Regions from separate parts of the Homo sapiens genome. Here all the other regions are linked to region 1. Evidence: promoter capture Hi-C in 16 types of primary human blood cells and fetal thymus (Javierre and others, 2016). All regions are on one chromosome and are shown on one strand. Each heading gives the region's core, a stretch centred on a gene start or on the middle of the fragment in contact. The rest is flanking DNA. Distances are from core to core; before and after follow the strand shown. Region 1 holds the start of TMPRSS13 (transmembrane serine protease 13). Region 2 has its middle 93 kb from the start of CEP164. Region 3 overlaps DSCAML1 (DS cell adhesion molecule like 1).

What was found. The method cuts DNA at HindIII sites, captures the fragments that hold promoters and counts their contacts. A CHiCAGO score of 5 or more calls a contact.
Region 2: a fragment that was not itself captured here is called in contact with the fragment with the promoter of TMPRSS13 in region 1 in 4 of 17 cell types (M0 macrophages, M2 macrophages, M1 macrophages and 1 more); the score reaches 8.2 in M0 macrophages.
Region 3: a contact is called between a fragment that was not itself captured here and the fragment with the promoter of TMPRSS13 in region 1, in 3 of 17 cell types (M1 macrophages, M0 macrophages and endothelial precursors). The highest score is 12.6, in M1 macrophages.

What each region holds. Positions count from the first base shown.
Region 1 is chr11:117,927,119-117,932,152 of GRCh38, reverse strand. TMPRSS13 (transmembrane serine protease 13) reads left to right here and starts at 2,751. Exons shown (of 13, transcript NM_001077263.3): 1 at 2,751-2,866. The coding sequence starts at 2,846. RefSeq lists an enhancer at 1-68. The HindIII fragment of the contact is 10,649 bases long and covers 1-5,034 here.
Region 2 is chr11:117,418,739-117,423,772 of GRCh38, reverse strand. No RefSeq gene overlaps it. Among named protein-coding and RNA genes, the nearest start is that of CEP164, 93 kb to the right of the region's middle. RefSeq lists an enhancer at 3,012-3,512. The HindIII fragment of the contact is 1,269 bases long and covers 1,462-2,730 here.
Region 3 is chr11:117,440,741-117,445,774 of GRCh38, reverse strand. It overlaps DSCAML1 (DS cell adhesion molecule like 1), which reads left to right. Exons shown (of 33, transcript NM_020693.4): 21 at 1,736-1,889. Among named protein-coding and RNA genes, the nearest start is that of CEP164, 120 kb to the right of the region's middle. RefSeq lists an enhancer at 2,239-3,219. The HindIII fragment of the contact is 1,541 bases long and covers 1,193-2,733 here.

The DNA of each region.
Region 1 (5,034 bases), core at 1,502-4,001:
GTGTGCTTGTTTGCATGGCTGACATTTTTCTGTAAAACTCCCTTCACTCCACATGGAAATGACCCAGGTAGGAAATGACCAGGGTACAAATGGGCCTGATGGCTGGCCTACACTCTCCCTGGGGCGTTGAGGGAGCAGAAGGTGGGTCCCAGGTGCTGCCAATAGCCTCTGGGTGTGGAGTAGCCAGAGGTGGGCAGGTGTCTTTCCAGAAGGCAACCAGGGAGCTGAAGGGAGAAAGCCAGGGACCAAGGCCAGAGAGAAGGAGGCAAAGGAAAGGGTGGGAGTCAGAGAGAGCCTGGGATTGTACAGTCAGGAGGACAGCAAAGGAGGCCGGGAGGAGGGGGAAGGAAAGGGCCAGGCCAGGGTCAGTGGGGAAGTCAAAAGCGGTGCAGGCCTCTAAGTCCAGCTCTGTGGGGGAAGCATCCAGGTCTTGTGCTGCCGCAGCGCCTTCACTCTGAAAATAGGAAAACCACCAGCTAGGAATTTCATTCCTCAGTGTCCCCCCGCCACCCGCCCCAACACATCAACTGTGTGTTCTCCCAGGGCAGGGCCCCTGCCTTTCTGTTCTTTGCCCACCACTCTCACTCCCCAGCAGCCACCGTGGGCCTGGTGCTGAGCAGTCAATCCTTGCTGAACTGAACTGCCCTTGGTGGGGATGTCACACGGGTCAGACTGCTTTGTCAGCGAGGACTCTGGGACAGGCCAACTTGTGTCTCTGATGCAAACCAAGGAAAAGAGCAAGAGGTGAAACTGATGTTCCTTCCCAGCCTTCCCAGTGCCCTGTGCCCCGTGCCAGGCACTTCCTCTGGTTCTATGTGTTCTCATTTTCCCGATGGTGAACCTGTCAGGCCTTGCGAGTTCCCCTCAGAGTTAGGGTTCTCATTCCCCCGAACTCGCCCAGACCCCCAAGCCTGAGCTCTTTCCCTAGGTTGGTGGGACCTTCAGGGAAGGAGGCTGAGGGTGCCCTTCGGAGACCAGTGGCCTGCCTGGGGGATGAAGTGGAGGCCCTCGGATCTGGCCTGGGCGTGCCAGGGCTCAGTGGCAGCCAGAGAGGGGCTGGGCTCCTCCCTGGGAGAGAGGGAAGAGGAGCAGCTGAGGACAGGAGGTGGGTATCTTCTCAGGAGGATGGATGGGAGGGGCCCCTTTGTCATGGTGGGCTGGTGGATGGGGCAGGAAGGGGATGTGGCCTGTGGCTGAATTCTGCTCTCTTTGAAAGCCAGGGAAGTGGCTCCCACAATAAGCCAAGATGAGAGAACTCTAGGGTCCCTGCCTGGGCCCTCCAGAGTTCTCTCCTCCAGCCTCTTGCCTCTGGGTTAGATTTCCCTCAAGACACCCTAAGCTGGGGCACAGTTTCCACTGTGAGCTAGAAGTTTCCGTTTTCTTGAATGTAAATGGGGGGCGATAGTAGTCACTTCCTTTCAGTTTTTGCTCAAATATGTCACCACAGAGAGCCCTCTCTGACCATCCTGTTCCCAACTGCCAGGACTCTGCCTCCCCTACCTTCTGGATCCTTTCGCTGCTTTGTTTTTGTGAACGGCACTTTTCACTTTCTAGGAGGCTGTGTAACTGATTTATTGATTTTTGTCTGCTTTTTCCCCCCAACCCGCAAATACTAGAGCCACAGGGCAGGAGGCTTTGCCTATTTTGTTCCTGTGTCCCCAGCACCTAAAGCAATGCCAGGCACTCAATACATATTTGTTGAATGAACACGTGAAGGATGCGTGTGAAGTGTTTCGCAGGATTCTTGGCATCTTAAGATTATTGCTGCTGCTGTTGTTTGCTGTGTGACTTGAGCACATTCCTTAGCCTCTCTGGCCCTCTGTCTCGCAGTCTGTAAAATGAAAAGAGTGAACCACTAAAGATCCATGAGCTTCTTTCAAACTCTAAAAATCTTGGTGCCTCTGAATGCTCAAGAAAGTTCTTCCCAAACCTCAACAGGAACTCCTTTTTCTTTTTTTTTTTTTTGCAGTTCTCAGCAGCAGCTCAGCTGGAACTTAGCCGGAGGTGCTAAGGACTCCTTTTGCAATAGCCCTTCCTTTACTTCTTTTGACTCTGAGGATCAGAATAGGGTATAGGTTTGGGATCACGAGTCAGCCCAATGTTTCTTGGAACAGTTTCCATTCAGATAGTTATGTTTTATTTCATTGACTTTGATGTGTTGCTTCTGGCACTTTATTGTTTTCAATAGAGGGCAATTCATGATGTGCATAATTAAAGGTCATTTGATTTTCATTTCTTTGTTAAGAGTTTCATAAAAACAAACAGAGTTCAGGAGAAAGCAATTGCCAGACCATGCGCCCAGAGACCATGTGCCCTGATTTGGGATTTGGACACCTGGTCCTTGGAGATGAAGGTTCCCACTGTCCTGCCATAGGTGGGGCTCTGCCCCTGGCCTGGAACGTCCCCTGTGGGGATAGGGTCATCCCTCAGAAGGCTCTGGAGCATCTGTTTCAGGGGCTCAGGTCAACAGGACCAAGACCATCCTCTCAAGGCTCTGCCCTTTCTCTCAGGGCCCCTCTGAAGAAGTAGCTCAGAACACTCCTCTGCTTCTGTGGGGGCAGTTTCATGAGTAAAGGCAGCTTCAGGTTCCCGGTATTTGGAATTTGGTATTCGCTGAGTAACTGGGATGGCCTCGATGAGGGGCAGAGGAACAGGTCTGGCTAGTTCTGTGTTGTTTATACTGGGGATTACTTCACACGTCCCAACCGGCTTCCCCGCCCCATTTGGTGGGGGCTGGCCCTTGGCCCTCCAACTCCTTTACCCTACATGCCTGAGAAGCCAGGGACCAAGATGGATCTTCTCCTCGACATCAGCTAAGCCTGGAGGACTCTTCCCCTCAGAGACCATGGAGAGGGACAGCCACGGGGTGAGTGTGACCTCAGGCCTCGGGCCAGATTCTCCCAGCGCTGAGGAAGCAGGGCTGAGGCTGGGAGACAGGTGGGACAGCTACCTCTGTGTTTCAGGTTTGGGGGAAACTGGCTGTGCCTCTTCTAGTTTGAAGCTACTTACGATCAAGATCTCTTGGTCTCCTTTTAACGTGGTTCTAGAAAAAGCCCCTGGGAGGAGAAGCTGCTGGGATTTGGGGTCTGGCTGGTGAGCACCCCAGGGCTATGTGGCTGAGTCGTGGGTTTCCTGCTCTGTGGTCTGTGAGCACTCCTGCCGGGCATCCATAGTGTTACAGCACCAACTTTGCCGATTGGGAATCCAGGCTAATCTACTTTAATCTCATTTTTGCTGGTTGGAAAATCAAAAGCATTCTAACTGCAATTCAGGGGCATCTTGTCTAAACCCCTCACTACACTCCTAAACCTTCCCAGAAAACTGTGACTTTCTGGGTGCATTCAAGATTTTCAAGGGGATGTTTCAACCTCCGTTGGTCACTTCTTTTTGGACTTAATAACTTTCATGCTTGGGAAGTGCTTCTTGATGTTTAACCACAAGTCCTGCTACCACTCAACTTCCTTTCTTCTGCTGCTCTTGGGGTAGGAGAAAGCAGCTGGCCTGTCCTCTGTGGGAAAGCCAGTCATACACACATGAAGGCTTCCAAAGATCTTGTTCTGCTGTGCCTCCACTTTCTTTTCCTCCAGGAAATCCCTTTTGTGCTCTCATTTCTCCTTTAGGTCTTGTTTTCTGCCCCCTCCAAATTCTCTGTACCTTACCGACATGGTAGAGCCTGGGACTCTGGGAAGAATGGGCTAGCACTGGGTTTGGGAAAGATCAGCTCATCCTATGTTTTGGCTTATAGTTGGCTTGTGGTCCATTCTGCACCCCCAATGTGTTTCTGCAAACTTTACCATCATTTTTTTCCCACCATTCTTCCAGCCCCCTCTTGACTTTTCTTTCCCAGGCTGCCTCCCTTGCCCTCTGCTCTGGGCTCCTTCGTTCATGTCTCTACCTCACCAAAGTCACTTGGCCCTAGGCCTTGGGGGGTTATCAGAGCCTCTTACTGTTGAGCAGTAAGGGGGGTACACAAGGGCATGCAGAAGGTGAACCCTTAGTCACAGCCATGGGGCATCCTCCTTGGCAATATGCTGGGAGCCTAAACTAGATGGTCCCTAAACCCAAGAGTGAGAAGGGCTGAGCTATCCGGAGGGTGGCCATGCTCCCACTGGAGATGGATAGTCCATCCCTGAGACAGGGTGATGGGGCGATATCTTCCCAGGAAGCTCATCTCTTCAGAGTCAGGGATCAACATGAAGGCTGCTGGAGGGATACAGGACAGAGAACAGACTTCTTTGAGGAACTCCCAATTAATCTATGAATTAAGTGTCAAATATTATGATAGGTGCCATATTCATTCTGAAAAAAAGATTGTCCAAACTTACCTTGGAATGGAAGAATGGAATCATTACATTCTTATTTAAGGTTCTTAACTTCACTCCCCTATTTAAGATGGAACTCTGAGAGAGTGAGCCTATAGTTGGGGCTCGTATTCCCATCTGCAGCAGGTTTCTTAACCTTGATTAAATAGGAGTGGTCTGGGAGAAGCTGGTCACCTGAGCTTGTGCCTTCTCCTTGAGGGCTTTATTGCAGAGAGATGCATTGTGATTTCTGTCCCTCAACTCCAAAATGTCGTGAGGAAGATGGTGGCCAGTGGGCTTGAGCCTGATGGCACTCCTCTGTCAGCTGCTGGATCTTCAGAGGGATCTTGGAAAAGAGGTGGAGAAGGGTCTCAGTTTCTCATATTCAAAAGAAAGTTGCATGTCGTGGTGGACAGAGAACTGACCATGTTCCCCGTCAGCTTTGGGCAAGCCACTTCACCTTTCTGTACCTTAGTTTCTTCATCTGTAAAATGGAATAATAATACTACTCTCAAAAGAAGAATGTTGGACAAACTAAATTTAACAGAGTTTAATTGAGCAAAGAACAATTCTCAAATGGAGCAGTCCCCCGAAGGAGAATAGATTCAGAGAGATTCCCACACAGCTGCGTGGTCGGAGAGGATTTATGGACAGAAAAAGGCAAGCAGTGTATGGAAAAAGGAAGTGAGGTACAGAAATAGCCTTATTTGAACACTGTTTGAACAGTTGGCTG
Region 2 (5,034 bases), core at 847-3,346, 510 kb after region 1:
GTTTGTTTGTTTGTTTTTGAGACGGAGTCTCAATCTGTAGCCCAGGCTGGAGTGCAGTGGCACCATCTCGGCTCACTGCAACCTCCACCTCCCGGGTTCAAGCAATTATCCTGCCTCAGCCTCCTGAGTAGCTGGGATTACAGGCATGCGCCACCACACCCAGCTAATTTTTGTATCTTTGGTAGAGACAGGGTTTCACCATGTTGGCCAGGCTGATCTTGAACTCCTGACCTTGTGGCATCTGTATTTTTAACAAGCGAAATGATACCCAAGTATTTGTTCATTCACCAAATACCCAGAAGCACTTCCAATGATCTGGCACTGAGCTGGGCACTGGAGATGCAAAGGCCCTGTGGGTCTCTTCCTGCGCTCAAAGGCTCACTCCCCGGAGTGTGCGCAAACTGGCGGAGGCGGAAGGAGGGAAGCCTGGGTCAGGGAACAGCAGGGAGGGTTTGCTGTCTGCCAAAGCCTCATGATCCTCCACAGTGCACAGTTGTTGCGGGGAAGTCGCTACGCATCCCGTGACTACAGTTCCAGGCCCCCGATTCTCAGAGAAGGCGATGAGACTGAGCTTTGACCAGCGGAATGTGGCATAAGTGATACACGCTACTTTCAGGTCCAGCTCATAAAAACTTCCCTGGCCACCCTCTGCTCTCTCCAACTGTAAGTCAATGCCCAAGGTGAACTTGGAAGCCACTTATTGAAGATGGCAGATCCTCTATCACCCTGGCTTATACATCGATGTAGCGCAGAGGCCCCTCTATCCCCTTCAATGCCAGCTGGACTTTATGTGAGCAAGAAATAAACTTGCAGTAAGCACCGATACTTTGGAGTTTATTTTACAACAATTAGCATCATCTTAATTTATGCAGGAGATGAAGGGGAACTTGGCTCCCCATAGAAATTCTCCCTTGATAGATCAGGCCCAGGGCATCCTCCCCCGCACCGCCTGCCATACCATGTCACCCACCATACCATGTCACCTCCTCTTACCCTACATATTGGATTCCTATACAGGTAAAGGGTGGGAAAGGCAAAGGGAGACGCTGGTGAGCTTAGAGAGGAGGAGGGCATCTGTGTGTCTGTAGGAGAAGGGTGGGAGAACCAGGCTGAGCATGAACCCTGAGTCAGGGCTCTGTCCTTCCTCCCAGAATCCATGTCCTCTTCTGGGCAATGACAACAATACTCTAGGCCGAAGGAGGAATAGATGCCAGCTGGATTACCCTGGAGGTGATCCATACTTGGTTTTAGTGTCTCTAAGAATCGCACAATCTCAGGACTCAAAGAGACCTTCAACGCCACCTGGTCCACGCTTCCACCCAAATTGGGAATTCCATCTGCAATCAGCAAGAGTGGTCTGGCCTTCCCGTGCACACCTCCTGATGGAGAACTCATCACTTCCCCAGCCAGCACATCTCACCTGTGACAGCTCTAACAGCAAAACCTCCCTCACACTAAGCTTGGGTGGCCCCTCCAACTTCTACTCACAAGGCTCGGTACTGCCACTCCTGGGGGGCACCACAAAACAAGTCTCATCCCTTCCCAACTCAGAAGCCCTCCACAGATGGTATTTGAACATCGTCCTCAGCAGACAGGCTCCCCAAGGGCAGAGAAGGGTTCCACTGTCTCTTCCAGAGAAGGGACAGTGCCTGACTTAATAGGAGCACAACATATGTTAGACATAGATGAACAAAGGGTAAACAGTGGGAGAAACGGGCAAGGAGTAGACCAGTGAAGGCCGAGATCTCCTGAAACATTGGTTCTCTCCGCATAGTGTCCCCAAGTTACAAGAAAACAACACAACAGAATACCATCATGCCTGCTGCCGTTTGCTGAGAGTCTACTTGAGTCAAGCACCCTGATAACCACTTAGCACGGATACTCTCCTAGTTTTACCACTACCCTGTAAAAAAGAGTAACTCCTATAAGCACAAAACCCAAGTGGTGGTGTCTCAGGGCCGTAGTGCCAGTCAAAGAACCTCAATCCACTCAGCCACCAAAACGAAAGTTTTAAATAACTCAAGTTATCTGCTTTTGTTTTTGTGATCCTGAAGGGGTCCGAAGAGCAGATGTAAGTGACACCCGCTGACACCCTACGGAGCCTGTGCCTCCCACATCCCCCCACACACTGCCTGCTCTTCTCCAGCCCTGCTCAGCTCCGCCCTCCTCTCCTCTGGGGAATGTTCTCTCACATTCATTTCCCCCCATTTTCCATTAGGAAACAGCAACAGTTGGGCATAGGGGAGGCAGAGGAGGTGGGAGAAACCGCAGGCAAGGCAGGCCTCCTCTTTGGTGATTCGTGGGAAGGATCTATGGATGGGAAATTAATGTGTTTGTAATTTCTGCCCTGAAGATGTGTGATCTCCATTTTATTGGCTAAGAAAGAAGTCAAAGAGGTCAGGTGACTTGTACAAGGCCACTCAGCCGGCAAGAGGCATCAGCCAGGGTTTGAATTCCAAAGCCGGTGCTCACCAAACCACTTCGGATCCTTTCCAGAAAGCCAGGCGGCCCCCAGAAGGCGCCATGTGTAGAGTTCCTACTATGTGGCGGGCACTGCGATGGAAACGCAGGGGCTGCGGAGTCAATCCTGCTGCTCCCTTGCCAGCTCTGTGACCTCGGGAAAGCACCTTCGCCCTCATGGGCCTCAATTTCCGCTTCTATGAAATGCGAGAATAACTCCCATGCTGCCAGGTTGATAAGACTGAAAGGAAATAATGAGGTTAAAAAGCTTTTAACTATGAAATGGGGATTAGACAAGATACAAACCAGCAGACCAGAGGGTCAGATTCCAGAGAAGCCAGGATTTGCCTCATCTGCCCAGGTTTTGTTGTTGCTGTTGTTGTTTCTTCTTTTCTTTCTTTCTTTTTTTTTTTTTTTTTGGTCAGGGTTTTGCTGTTGCCCAGGCTGGAGTACAGTGGCGCAATCATGGTGCGCTCAACCTGGAATTCCCGGCCTCAAGCGATCCTCCCACCTCAGCCTCCCGAGTTGCTGGGACTACAGGCGAGGAACACCATGCCCAGCTTTTGTTTGTTTGTTTGTTTTCCTGCCCAGATTTGTGTCCAGGGAAGCAGGTGGGATATGAAGGTCCCTTGCTGCCCTAGAGAACCTACTGAAGCTCACCAAGAGGATTCACAGCCTGTGCAGAAAGGGAAGCTCTGAAGGCCTCTGATGTCCTCAAATTCACTGTCATCAGTCCCAACCAGGAGCTAGCACTGGGCCCCCAACTCCTGGGAGTCACCAGAAAGGGTGGACGGCGCAGTAAAATGCCACCCCATCCATGCTGGGCCAATGCCTCACCTCCCCCAGGAGGCATCACCCAGATGGTGAGCTCTGCCCTAAGACGTCCTGCCTCTGTGGGTGCCATTCTTTCTCTCTTGAGCTCCACCCTTCCTGGGCCCAGTGGAGGTGGATGGCACCATTCCAGGCATGGCCCTGCGTGTCCCCAGCTGAGCCCCGCCAGGGCCTTTGTGACAAGTGGCATCTCCAGTACGCGCTGACTGGACACATCCGGGCTCAGCACCCGGGCAGCCACCACCAGCCACCACTGCGGCCAGCCGCCTCAGACCAATGCCCCGCACGAAAGCCAGGCCTCCAGCCACCATGGGGCTCTGTCGGCAACACCAAGGGAGAGGGGACTTGGCAGGTCCTGCAAGCTTAGACTACAAGTCTCCCATCCCCACCCTCCCCCAGGCATTTCTACAGTGTCTGACTCTGCCTGACACCCTGGGTCCTGCCCACCTCAGCCTCCTTCCCCAGGAGGCACAGGTCCCACGCCTGCCAGGCTCTGACACCCCTCCATGGGGATTCAGAGACTAGAGGAGTGCACGGTGGATTTTGGGGCACCAGGGGTGTCACCGCAGCCCAGCCCAGACTCCAAGGAACCGCCTGGGTCAGATCGCCCTTGAGCCAAGCAGGGATTCCTTTTAGGAGTTAGGGCCGTTGTAGGGCTTCAGGGTGTCCCTGGGCAGAGCTTAAGAAAAGGGTAGGGTCTGCAATGCCAGGGAGTGGGAGGGAATTCATCACGGGCCTTGGGTGCAGGAATACCTACTGCTTAGGGAGGTCTCCTGTGTGCTTGGCACTTCCCAGGCGCTGGGGGCATGGGGTGAGGAGAACAGGCAGCCCAGCAGATGTTCCAGGGTGCATGGAATGAGCTCATTCTCAGATGAAGACACCGACGCTGAGTCGCTGGACAGTCACTTGTCCAGAGCACAGAGGTGGTCAATGGCAGAGCCACAGATCTGTCTGACTGCTCCCAGGAGGAGGTTTCTGAGGAGGGGAGCACCCGGGCACTACCCTTACCATCTTCTCTTTGTAGCTACAACAGAGTGGATGCTGTTGTGGCCCCAGGGCCTGCCAACTTTCTCCAAGAGGAAATGGGGCTGAGGATGAGACAACAGCTATTTATTTGAAGGCACCACCGCTGTCTTGCCTTTAGTCAGACTCTGCCGGCCTCTGAAGCCGAAGAGAGCACGTAGGAGGAGGAGAAAGGGTAGGTAGAGCAGAAGGCCTTCCCTGGGGAGACCTTCCCTCTTCACACAAAGAAAGAGGCTGCCCCGGACCTCCTTCTCAGCCCCCAACCTCGCCCTCCAATCCCTGTGCCGGGAGGGAGGGCGCATACTCATGAGGGTGTGCAGTGTCCACACAAGTGCCTACGTGAACAACTGCACTACAGGCCATTGGTTTGCACTCTCATTCTGCAACCTAATAGCTTAACCTTCCAAGGCTCTCTCGCTTTCTTTTTTCATCTTGTAAAATGGAGATCATTGTCTACCTCATAAGATTGCTATGAGGATCTTTGAGAGCTGTAGATAGGTAAAGGCCTTTGCACTGGCTGGTAGTAAGCAAACAGAGGCTACTTTATTAGTAAGAGGCCCTGTGAGAATCCAAATGTGCATGCACTACACTTTAACCCCTGCATGTGCATACACTCATGTATGTTCATAAGGGGGACAAGCAGCGGACGGGAGAGGGTTCTGTGACCCTATTTCATTCTATCATGTGGAAGAAGTAAAGGGACATTTTTTTCTGTGTGAG
Region 3 (5,034 bases), core at 714-3,213, 490 kb after region 1:
CCTGCCTGTGTAGGCACAAATATACACTCAGGTATACACTGATGCACACAAGCACATACACTCAGCTGTTCTCCACACATGCACATGTACATAGAAACACATACGTTCCTGTACTGTCACCAAAAACAAGCCCGGAGAAGAATATGTCCTAGTTTACAAAGGACGTGCACACCCCTGCCTCCTTGTGCCTCAGTCACACACAGGTTGGGCAGAGCTGTATTGCTTCCCTAGTTTGCAAGAGAGAAAACAGCGTCCAGAAACTATGGGCAACCTTACGGGCTGTATGCCCAGGAGGAAGGGCAGGAGGGTGTTGAAGCCACTACACTACCCCACACTTCAAGCACATATCAACGACAGATACGCACACCAGTCCCAGGGTGCTGTGGCCTGAAAGGGCTTCCCAACCACCAGGGCTCAAGGGTGGCTCTGCACCTGCCCCCCCGGACCTCCTGGATTCAAGGCCAGACCCCCACGAGGGAGGCAGGAGGAATATGCCAGGGAGCTGTGTGTGTGTGTTGCAGAGATGCCTGTGCCTTTTCCCCTAACATTTCCCTGCAGATGGCCTGGGGCCAAAAAGGATGTCTCCTCCTGTTATAAGTTATTGGGCCTCTCAGCCCCACTATGGGGCATGAAGAATGTCCCTCTGTGCCCATACATGCCTGGAGGTCTGTTCCTCAGCATGTGTGCATGCGTCTACATGTGTGTGTGCTTGTGAGCGTGTGTGTGCAAGATCCTGTGACTGCAGAGATAACTAATTATTAGCTCCCTCTGGCCTCGGGCCCCCATCTGTTCTGGGGCTGCTCTCCCTCCCTGGACTTCCGCTCTGTTTTCAAAGGGGCCCTGGTGCTGTCCTCCTCTCCCTTCCCTGCGGCTGACCAAAAAATAAAATAAAATGAAAGTCAGCCCCATCCCGCCCGTGCCAGGGAAGAGGCTGACAGGAGGTCTGCAAACTAGCGCTTATCAAAAGCTCCTTCTCAAATTCATTTCAATATCTGAGCCTCTGGTTTCCAAGGCAACATAATCTTTTCATCAAAGCAACTGGTAAAACCACTGGGATCCGATATTGTTTTGTTGGCAACTTGTCAAAACTGTCATTTTGTTAAAAAAAATTTTATAGATTTGTATAACCTACAAATATATATGGTGATCTATACCACTAATAATCATTAATAAAGTGCTACCCAGTAAAGCTTTCATAGTTCCTTCTCCCGCCCCCTCCTCCCTGGACGGGCGGGCGTGCTGCCTGCAAAATGCAGGAGTGGTAATTAGACGGCAGGGCTAGGAGGTGACGGGAGCCAGAGCAGGCTGCAGGAGCCTGTCTCCAACCCTCATCAGGCAGAGGCAGTCATTTGCCTTCTTCCTGAAGACTCTTTCCTCAGGGCTTTCCTGGGACCCCCTGTCCCCCATTCTCCCTTCTCCTGGCTACCCCGTCCCTCACCTAAAGTACTCACATCCCCTGGCCTGAGCCACAGCTGCCAGAGCGTGGATCAGTTAAAGAGGTAAACTGAGGCTGACCCAGCAACACCGCGAGGCAGGCCCATCAGCTCCCAGGGACCAAACCCAGGGCACACTCTGTCCGCTGCATCTCTAAAACTTGGAAAGGGCAAATAGGACAGAATCCTGCCTCGCATCCGACCCCGCCATCCTCTCCTCTGAGCCCCGGGCACTGAGGAAGATTTGGACGCTGGAGGGCCCCAGTTCTGCTTCTTAGAGCCTCTTTGCCTCTGCCCCGCAGGCTCCCAGCGAGTACGAGACGAGTCCAGAGCAGCTCTTCTACCGGATCGCCCACCTAAACCGCGGTCAGCAGTATCTGCTGTGGGTGGCCGCCGTCACCTCTGCCGGCCGGGGCAACAGCAGCGAGAAGGTGACCATCGAGCCTGCTGGCAAGGGTGAGAAGCCTGAGGCTGTGGCAGAGGGGCAAACACTTCCAAAAGCTCCCTTACAGAATCCTGGTTCTCCCCAGACAGGGTCTCTGCCTGCTCCGCTTTATCTGCCACCCAGCTGTGAGGAACTGGCCACCCGCCTGCCTCCCGCACACACCAAGACTGGGCCTCTGCTGCCCCCTGACTCCAGCAAAGCCTCACAACAGGCTGCCTCCGGCTCTTGCCTGGGGCGGGTGGACAGGGTGCACTCAGTTCCCGAGTCCAAACCCTACTCCCAGCTTGAAAAAGGGGGAGTCGCCTCTACCCCCAATTCAAAGCCGGGCCTTTGTCCCAATGCTCAGCTCCTCCAGAGGTGGCTACAGCCGGGTGTGCTGCTTCCACAGAGCAGCTGAGGCTCAAAGGAGAGCCCCCGTGCTGAACTGGACACCGGGCAGGGGTGATTCCAGCGATGGCGGATTCCTGCGATCCGCAGACCTTTACGGAGCGCGTGCTGTGAAGGAAGGCTCTGGGCTAGAATCAGACCCTCTTAGGGAGTGCCCCACTGAATCTCTGACCGGGACATGGGTGTGCCATGGGGGCTGCACCCCCACTTTTCAGAGGAATGACACTTCCAAGGCCTCATCCCAAGGGCAAGCTGTAGCAGCCGCGCAGGTAGAGCTGCAAGGCTGAGCGTCTGCCTCTCCCTGGGGCGTAGGAACTGGCCACAACTAGCCCAGGACCGCAGGTCCTCTACTTGCCGTTGGGCCTCCCTGGGCCCCTCCTCACTCCCCCACTCTCTTATCCACCGCAGCCCAGACGAGAGGAGGTGGTGCCTGCGCAGCCTGGCCAGCCTACCGGGGCCACTCAAGCTTCTCTTGGCCCAAACACAAGAGCCCCAAGCCCTACCCTGCCGCGGGCTCAGAGCCAGCCAGCATCTGATCGAGGGCCTACGGTGGGCCAGGGGCTTCCACCTGCCCTGCCAGCAGGGCTTGTTGACCCATTCCACAGCTGAGCAACCTGAGGCAGGAGTGGCATGGGCTGCAAAGACAACCGGGAAGGAGTGAGCTAGCTCTCCCAGCGCCAAGTCAGGGCTCTTTCCACACAGCCTCAGCACCTCCTACCACCCCCTAACCCCTACCACCAACCTCTTCTTCAGGAAGGGAAGGGGCCTAAAGCCTATCACCCTTCCAGAACAGCTAGCACTGGCCCAGAGGCAGGAGTGTGAGGGCTGGGCATCTTTGCAGAAGGCTGGCCTCTTCTCCTGGGGGCATTAAATAAACACGGTCCTAGAGAGCTGTGGACTTCCTAGAACACATTCACACAGCGTCACCTCACAGCCGCCCTGTGAGGTGGGAAAGACAACCACTCCTGCCCCCTTCCCCCATACACACACACGCACACACACACTGCACACTCATACATGTGCACACGCACAAACACATGCATATGCACGCGCACACACTTATACACACAGACCCACACATACATTTACGCACATACACATACTAATGTGCACACACATGCATACACACACTATACACACTAATATATGCATACACACATGCACACACATACACACTATACACACTAATACATGCATACACATATGCACACATATACACACATACACACTATACACACTAATACATGCACACACATATGCACATGCATACACACGCACACACACACTAGACACACTAATACATGCACACATGCACACACATACACACTATACACACTACATGCATATACGCATATACACACGCATACACACATGCATACACGTGCACACTCACATATGCACATACACAACATGCACTCACATGCATGTGCACAAACACGCATCTGCGCACACACATACACTAACACACACACACACATACACACACTCACATGCAGATGCACATACACACCCACACATACACACACATATGCACACACACCCTGAGACACAGATTCAGGGAGCCAACCCCAGCCTGTGGCAAAACCAGGTCTGGAACCTGATCTCTGGAGAAACTCTGAGAACACCCACAAAGCCCCCAGGCTTCTCACCGCCCCCGCATGGAGGCCGTCTTCATGTGGACCCCTCTGCCGGGCCTGTCTGGTGCCCCCACTGCTCCAAGCAGACCCCAGAACTCCCCTGCTCTGAGAGCCCCTTGGCACCTGGCACGACCAGCACAGGAGCCCACCCCCACGCCATGCACCTGAACCTCTCAGCTGCTCCCTCACTCTCACTCTCCCTCCACCCCAAGAAGGGCCCCAGCTCCATGGGCCTCCTCTACTCTCTGAGGCACTTGGGCACTTGGTTCCTTTAAATCTGGGCCTGGCGATCTCCCAGGCACTAGATGCATTTACCCACCCACCACACTCTGGGCACCTGTGGCCCCGCACCTTCTGTGATGCTGCTGACCCAGTCCTCCGCCACCACCCTTGGGACACTCCCGTCCTCTCTTCTGTGCCTGTGCATGCTGATCCTAGAGTTGGTCACTTCCCTGTCAGTCTGCATCCCCTCCTGTGGCCTCATCATGCCTGCTGACTCTCAGATCAGCGTCTTTGGTCCAGGCATCTCTCTGGTGCTCCAGAACACGCACCCACCTGTGGTCTAGCTACAGCTGTGGCTGCACTGTGGACTCAGTATGAGATGAAGCCATCCGGTCCTTCCTGCCAAGCCTGCCCCTCCTTCAGTGTGCCCTGTTCCCATGAGGGTGCCATCACTCACCTTGGTGGCCCAGCCAGAATCCTGGGAGCCATCCTTCCCTCCCCGCTCTCTTCCCCCAAACCAGCCAGACCCTAAGTTTTGTCAGCTCTTGCTCTGAGCCCCTCATCTCCCCACTGCTACGCATCACCTCCAGCCTGCATTCTGGCCACCATCCTGTCACGTTCTGTGTCCTCCAGGACCCCCTCCACCAAACTATCCTCTGCAAGCAGCCAGGATGCATCTGAAATCGGCTGAGGACACCACTCCTTTTTTTTTTTTTTTTTTTTTTTTTTTGAGACAGAGTCTTGCTCTGTCACCCAGCGTGGAGTGCAGTGGCATGATCTCGGCTCACTGCAACCTCCACCTCCCAGGTTCAAGCGATTCTCTCGCCTCAGCCTCCCGAGTAGCTGGGGTTACAGGCACCTGCCATCGTGCCCGGCTAATTTTTTGTATTTCTAGTAGAGAGACAGGGTT